2 separate regions of the Homo sapiens genome follow, and region 1 is linked to region 2. Evidence: promoter capture Hi-C in 16 types of primary human blood cells and fetal thymus (Javierre and others, 2016). All regions are on one chromosome and are shown on one strand. Each heading gives the region's core, a stretch centred on a gene start or on the middle of the fragment in contact. The rest is flanking DNA. Distances are from core to core; before and after follow the strand shown. Region 1 overlaps WNK2 (WNK lysine deficient protein kinase 2). Region 2 holds the start of NINJ1 (ninjurin 1).

Region 1 (3,407 bases), core at 240-2,739, 150 kb after region 2:
CAGTAAAAACCAAGACAGCTTCTAGGGGAAGGATACCATTCTCCCAGATGTTGTGACTCATATAAACCTGGAGTCACAGAGACAATCTGGTCCTAGAACAAGGGTAGAGAAATTGAGCAATGGAGTCAAGCCAGCTCAGAAGCAGGCCCACATCTTTGGACACGTGGTTGACAAGAAAGGTCCGATTGTCAAACAGTGGAGACCGGGTGGTCTTCTCAACAGAAAGAGTTGGGATAGTAGGCTGTCCACACAGGGAGATGATCCTCATACCACACACAAAACTCAGTAACAAGTCGCTTGTGAATCTCAATGTAAAAGGGAAAACAGTAAAGTTCCTAGAAGTAATAAGAGGCAGTATCATTATGGCCCCCACGTAGAACACATACGTTAAAGTTCAACAAAATATGCAAATGGAAAGACTGGCTAAAAATTGGTTAAATTTGACTGTATTAAAATAAAAAACTATTGTTTATCAAAAGACACCACTAATCGAGCACATAGGCGAGTCACGGAGCGAGAGATTCTGTAGTACAGATAGCCCCCAGACAGTTCTCTACCCAGCATCATGAAGAACCACAAATTAAAAAGAAAAGAATGACAGCTCTGTAGAAAAGCAGGCAAGAGACTTGAACAGGTGTGTCCTAAAAGAAGATACCCAGATGGCCAGTGAACACAGGAGAAGGTACTCAATTGAATTAAGTATTATCAGGGAAATGCAAATCAAAACCACACTGAGCTATCACCTCACACCTGTTAAGATCACTGCTCTCAAAAACAAAGGACTGCAAGTATTGGCCAGGATGTGGAGAGAGGGGACCTTTGTGCAGTGTGGTGTGAGTGTAAATTACTACAACCATTATGGAAAACAATGTGGACCTTCCTCAAAAAATTAAAATAGAACTACCGTATGATCCAGCAATCCCACTGCTGGGTATATATTCAAGATAATTGAAAACAAGGTTTGGAAGAAATACCTGCTCTCCTGTGTTCATTGCAGCGTTATTCACAATAGCCAAGATATGGAAACAACCTAAGTGTCTTCACAGATGAATGGATAAAGAAAATGTGATATGTTTGCACAGTGGAGTACTGTTTAACCACAAAAACAAGGAAACTACCATTTGCGACGACATGGATGAACCTACAGGACATTATGCTATATGAAATAAGCCAGGCACAGAAAGACTACACGATTCATTCCTCTCATATGCAGTATCTAAAACAGTCAAAGTCAAAAACAGTCAAAGCAGAGAGCAGAATGGAAGTTGCCAGCAGCTGGAGGGAGAGGGAAACGGAGTTACCATTGAGGGCATAAAGTTTCAGTTATATAAGCTGAGTAAGCTCTAGAGCTTTGCCACACAACATAGTGCCTATAGTTAACAATAGAGTATCATGCTTTTAAAAATGTGTTAAGACAGCAGATCTCATCTTAAATGTTTTTTCCATAATTAAAAAACAATAAAGAGCCACAATAAGACGCCATCACACAGCCCTAGGGGTGCTCAGAGGCTGCCGATGGTGGGGGCATTGGCTCCTGCTTGGGGAAGCACCTTGGCACCCTTACATAAAGCTAAAGGGGATCAGTGACCAGCAGCTCCCCAGTGGCGTGTGCCTGGCAGGACACGGGCCTGCACGCACTGTGCCTCAGTGTTAGTCGTGGTCCCACCCAGCCACAGCCCAGTGAGTACCAACACAGAATGGATGCGTGCATCATGGTGCAGTTGTGCAAACAATAACAAGGACACATCTCACAAACACGGTGAGAGAGGCCAGGCACCACAGAATAGAGTACCATTCCATTGATAGAACGTGCAGCACGACCATCATGTTTAGACAGACGAACGGTAAGGCCGGAAAGGAGCAGTGGAGGAAATTTTGGTCAAATTAGTTTACCTTTGTTGGGCCAGGCAGGGGATGGGGACCAAGGGAGTCTGGGGGCACGAGGGAGGGCATCAGGGTCCTATTAATCTCCCCATTCTCACCTTTTATTTTTTGAACAGTTTTCTTTTTTTGTGTTCATTTTCTTTGTGTTTTTTAAAAAGACAAAGTGGGCTGGGCGTGGGGGCTCACACCTGTCATCCCAACACTTTGGGAGGCTGAGGCCAGCGGATTGCTTGAGCCCAGGAGTACAAGACCAGCCTGGGCAACATGGTGAAACCCAGTCTCATATGAAAAATACAAAAATTATCCAGCTGTGGTCCGAGCTACAAGGAAGGCTGAGGTGGGAGGATTGCTTGAGCCCGGGAGGCAGAGGTTGCAGTGAGGCGAGATTGCACCACTGCACTCCAGCCTGGGTGACAGAGCCAGACCATCTCCAAAAAAAAAGAAAGGTCGGGTTGCATTTTCAAGTAAGGAAAACTGGGCTCCAAGGCCAAGTTTGAGAAACACCGTCCTGCCACCTCTCAGATGCCCGCAGTCCCTGTGAGCCTGGTGGAGGCTCCATGAGCTCCTGCACAAGGCACTGGGAGACTTGGTTATACTGCTGGGGTTCTGGATTCCTCCCACAGGGTCACTGACCAGCCCTGGCTGCGCTTCTGACCATACCAAAGACTGGGGGTCTGAAGGCTTCAGGCTCCTGCTCACTCCTGGGCATGGAAGTGTGTACAGCTCACTACTTAAACTCTTTAATTTTGAAATTTCATTGAATAACTTTTGTCCAGTGCAAGATAGACAAGAGCCGTATCTTTCTGGAGCTGTCTGTGCGGGTGAGGGTGTGGACAGACAGATGACAGACAGGCAACAGCCACAGCTGATGGTCACACGCTACAGAAGACACAGAAGGAAGGGTGGTGCTGGTTCAGCCACAAGGGACACTATGGGAACAGGGACCTGGAGTTGCGAAGCTGGTGGCTCAGAGACCTGTGGGAGGCGTTACAGGAAGCAGCAGCCAAGGCTGGGCTGAGCTGCAGGCAGGCAGGAGCCTGGCGTGTCGGGAAACAGAGAAGACCAGCACGCTGGGGCCATGGCCAGCTGTGTAAGGCATCTTTTTAGCCAAGGAAGAAACAGGTAGATAGGACTGGAGTACCCTGGTACAAAGGCATTTTCCCCATTTCTTCTAGATTCAGCGCCCTATAAAGACCAGCTGTCCTCGAAGGAACAACCCAGCTTTCTAGCCAGTCAGCAGCTCCTGAGCCAGGCGGGCCCCAGCAACCCTCCTGGGGCACCCCCAGCCCCTTTGGCCCCCTCCTCCCCTCCTGTGACTGCTCTGCCCCAAGATGGAGCAGCTCCAGCCACCAGCACCATGCCAGAGCCAGCGTCAGGAACTGCCAGCCAGGCAGGGGGTCCAGGGACACCTCAGGGGCTGACCAGTGAGCTCGAGACGTCTCAGCCACTAGCGGAGACTCACGAGGCCCCGCTTGCTGTGCAGCCCCTCGTGGTGGGCCTAGCACCTTGCACTCCAGCTCCAG
Region 2 (3,677 bases), core at 954-3,453:
CTAAGCACTTCATATACATCAGCTACTGAGTCCTCACCACTCTCTATGGCAGGCACCGCGACCACACCCATTTCACAGATGAGAAACTGAGGCACAGAGTGCTGACATGATGTGCCCAAGAAACGGAGAAGCAAGGTCTTGAGGTTGGGAAGAGGAACAGGTGTGTTGGGTGGTCCTGGGCCCCCAGGCTGGGTGAGCAGAGCGGCCCTCGAAGTTTTCTACCCCTCAAGGGGAAATGTGCTCATCCTCACACTGGCTCATAGCCTTTCCACAGCTCCCTGGACACCAGACCGTGATCAGGCCTGCAAGGCCCCTCCCATCGGCCTGGCTTCCCATCCCCCCACCTCCTACCTGGCCCTCATGTGCTCTGTGGTCCAGCCTCTGAGCCTTTGCTCCCACTGTTCCCTCTGCCTAGATGCCCTTCCACACATCTCAGAGAGCCAGATCTGCTCACCCACCTTCCCTGCCCTCCAGGGCTCAGAGCCAATGTCCCCACCTCCACAGAAAGCCTTCCCTGACCACCATGCCCCGCCCCCCACGATGGGCTCCCAGCCCCCAGGGAACCCCCTGCTTTGCCCTGGCCTCTCCTGCCCTGTCTGGGCTGGGCTGCTCTCCAACCGCGGCTTGGTGGGGCGGGGCTGTGTCTCTCTCCCTCTGGTGCCCAGAGCCAAGACAGTGATCCGGGAACAAATCCAACCCAATCTCCTCTGGGCTTGAGATGCACCCATCTCAGGAGGCACAGCCTATCCTGCCGCCCGCAGAAGTGAGCAGAGACTGCTCTGAGTGGAGGGCATTGCCCGGGCAAGGTCAGGGTTGGGGGAGGAGCAGTATCCCTTCCTTTCCAAGGCGCTTCCAAGCCACTGACCTGTTTATTACCTGACTTGCTTTCCCCACTTCCCTGAAGGCAGGAGAGACCCTTTGTTCTCTCTTTATAAGACCATGTCTAAAAGGCCCAGCGAGGTGTGGCAACTTCCCAAGGACACACAGCCGGAGGAGCCCCCTGCCTATTGCTCCAAAGTGCTCACACACTGGGGCAGGGCCAGGTCGCTGGGGTCCCGCACACCGGTCAAGTCCTGCAGTGCGACAGCTCCTCTCTAACCTAGGAACAAGTGTCCATGCAGCCCCAGGGCCATCCTATCCCGTGGCTCATGGGGCCCCGCCTCCCCGAACATGTCCTGTCCCCACAGCACCGGCCTAGGACTGTTCACCAGCGAGTGGGCAGAGTGTCTTTGCCCCAGTCTGGTCCACGCCATGGAGAGGCCTGGAAAAACCCAACAGGCTGCTGTTCCCTGCCCCCATCCCTGAGGGGGTTAGAAAAGGAAAGAATGTTCAAAGTAAACAAGTCACCAGAGGGCCATGCCAGGACCTTGCAACAAACACAAGGTGCTCAGTAAGTGCTGAGTCCTGGGATGAAGAATTCTGAAGCGGGACCACTACCAGGGCCTGCCCCCTGCCCACAGCCCTCCCAGGCCGGGCAGGGCAAGTTCTGGAGGGCCGGTGGCGGCATACACTGAAGGCTGTGTGACGTTTCTATTTCTCAAGGCAGGTGAGTGGAATAGGGACCACAGCGGGCCCCAAGTTCCCCCATCAAGGCACGCATCAGATTGTGTGGTCAGCGTGGGGTGACGTAACTGTCTGCATGCAGCTGGTCTGGAGCCCGGAGGCTGTGACTCCCCTCCGCCCGCCTCCGGGCAAAGTGCGCGGAGGAGCCGGCACGGCGAGGCTGAAGTTAGAGAGGCCCGCGCGAGAGTGGGGGGGAGGTCGGGAAAGCCGGGCGCCGGCAGTCCTTAGCCCGAGGAGCTGCGCCGAGGCCCCCTCCGCCGTGCAGCCAAGCGCGGGCGCTGCTTAGTGGGGCTGGGGACGCCAGCCCGCCCTGCGCCCCCACGCCCCCTCGTCCCGCCCACTTGCCGGGGGTGGCTGGAGCTCCCGGGGGCATCGTTCTGACCCTGATGGGGCGGGAAGGACTTGGCCTAGAGCGGGACGTCCCCCAACACTCTGCAGTGCGGACGCGGCGCACACAGGTGCCCGGGGAGCCGCGGCGCCCCGAAAGGACAGGGCCTGGCAAGATCATGCAGCGGTGGGGGGAAGGTCTTACCGAGGCGTCCGGGGAGCCGGGTGTGCCCGGAGGCAGGCCGCCGTTGAGCTCGTACTCCTCGGTTCCCGAGTCCATGGTGCGGCCGCCCAGGCCGCCAGGATCCGGGCCTGAGCGCGCCCGAGCCTCAGCCGCAGGCTCCAGCTGCGCGCCCGCCCCCGGCCCGCCCCCGGCCCGCCCGGCGGCGAGCTGCTGCCCCAGACTCCGCCTCCACCCGGGGCGGGCCCGGGGCCTGGAGGCTGTACGCTGAGAGCGCGCAGTTTGGGGCGACCCCAACCCCTCGGGCCTGAGACGGTCCCGCGGGGCCCCACAAGGGAGGGGGCGCGACGCCGATGGCCCCAGAGGACCCTGCGCTGCGTCTTGCTCTGAACCTCCGTCGCGGACACTTTTAATCCACAAAATGAGGCCAAGAACGACCTTTCCCTGGCCACCAGGCAAACTGCATGAAAGCGAGCGGGCGTTGCCGCTGGCGCCCACGCTGGGTTTTTCCCAGGCGGGGTTCGCCCTGGGAACCGCAGATCGCTCCAGCACAGCGCCTGCTGCGCCCCTAGTAACAGCGTCAGAGAGTCCGGGGTTCCCCTGATTGCGGGCCACGCTGACACAGGGCTTCCCACTCCCTGACCTTAGGTTTTCCTGCCTGGGAAATGGGGGTTATGAGGGCACAGACTGCTGGAGGGGCTGGGGGAGGCACAAAGGGGATGAACGTGCGCTGACTCATGGGCCCATCTGTGCCACCTGTGGCAGGGGGTGGGCTGGGGGCAGCACAGTGCCCAGAGCCCTGGCCAGATGCTAGGCGGGCCCCCACCTGTTGTATGATTGAAGTGGTTGTTTGGTCTCTGTTTCTCCATATGTTCATTCCTCAGCACTTTGCCCATCTGGGGGCCTGGGGGTCGAGAGCATGTGGCGGCCACCCTGGGAGGCCAGGGGAGTTCATCCTGACCACAGCATAGTCAGCTTGCGGCAGTATGGCCACTCTATTTCCAGAAGGGCAGTGGAAGGAAGGCCAGCTCAGACCCCAGGCTCTGTCCAGTCAGGCTGCCACCGGGACAGGAGGTAGGAGTGAGTGGGCATGGGCAGGGCAGCAGGATTGCGCTTGCCCTGATCCTCCAAACGGGGTCATCCCATGAAGGAGGAGCTGTCGTGGGCCCACTTCACAGCAGAGAAACTGAGGCTCAGGCTGTCACTGCCCCAGCTCTGCCTCAGAGGGGATCTGCAGGACAGGGTCTGGCACGGTGGCCCACGACGGGGATGGTTGCTGTTGTCCTCGCATAATCAGGGCACTGTTGGCACACCTGAGTGTTCACCAGCAGCTGGAAATCCAGCACCATTCACACAAAAAACTCTCTCACAGTATGGGACAAATCCCTATTCTGGGGGATAGTGCCTGCCCACGAGGGCTCAATTCCTGGAGGGGCAGGAGGTGTGGGACCACAGAGAAAATACGTCACACCCAGAAAGGGCCCTGGGAGCTGCAGGGGAGCCCTGAGACCTTGGAAGGCCAAGGGCGTGTAGAGAGGCCCCGAAGTAGGAGGGCTTGGCAGGTGGAGACCCCGTCCTGAGAGTATTCTTTCCTTTGTGCCATGTG

What was found. The method cuts DNA at HindIII sites, captures the fragments that hold promoters and counts their contacts. A CHiCAGO score of 5 or more calls a contact.
Region 1: a contact is called between a fragment that was not itself captured here and the fragment with the promoter of NINJ1 in region 2, in 1 of 17 cell types (neutrophils). The highest score is 5.3, in neutrophils.

The regions. Positions count from the first base shown.
Region 1 is chr9:93,285,729-93,289,135 of GRCh38, forward strand. It overlaps WNK2 (WNK lysine deficient protein kinase 2), which reads left to right. Exons shown (of 30, transcript NM_006648.4): 20 at 3,060-3,407. Among named protein-coding and RNA genes, the nearest start is that of WNK2, 100 kb to the left of the region's middle. RefSeq lists an enhancer at 2,922-3,407. The HindIII fragment of the contact is 6,054 bases long and covers 1-3,407 here.
Region 2 is chr9:93,132,048-93,135,724 of GRCh38, forward strand. NINJ1 (ninjurin 1) reads right to left here and starts at 2,204. Exons shown (of 4, transcript NM_004148.4): 1 at 2,096-2,204. The coding sequence starts at 2,170. LOC124902212 (a long non-coding RNA gene) reads left to right here and starts at 965. Exons shown (of 3, transcript XR_007061665.1): 1 at 965-1,546. RefSeq lists enhancers at 1,409-1,458, 2,918-3,514 and silencers at 1,749-1,998, 2,169-2,398, 2,899-2,948. The HindIII fragment of the contact is 11,448 bases long and covers 1-3,677 here.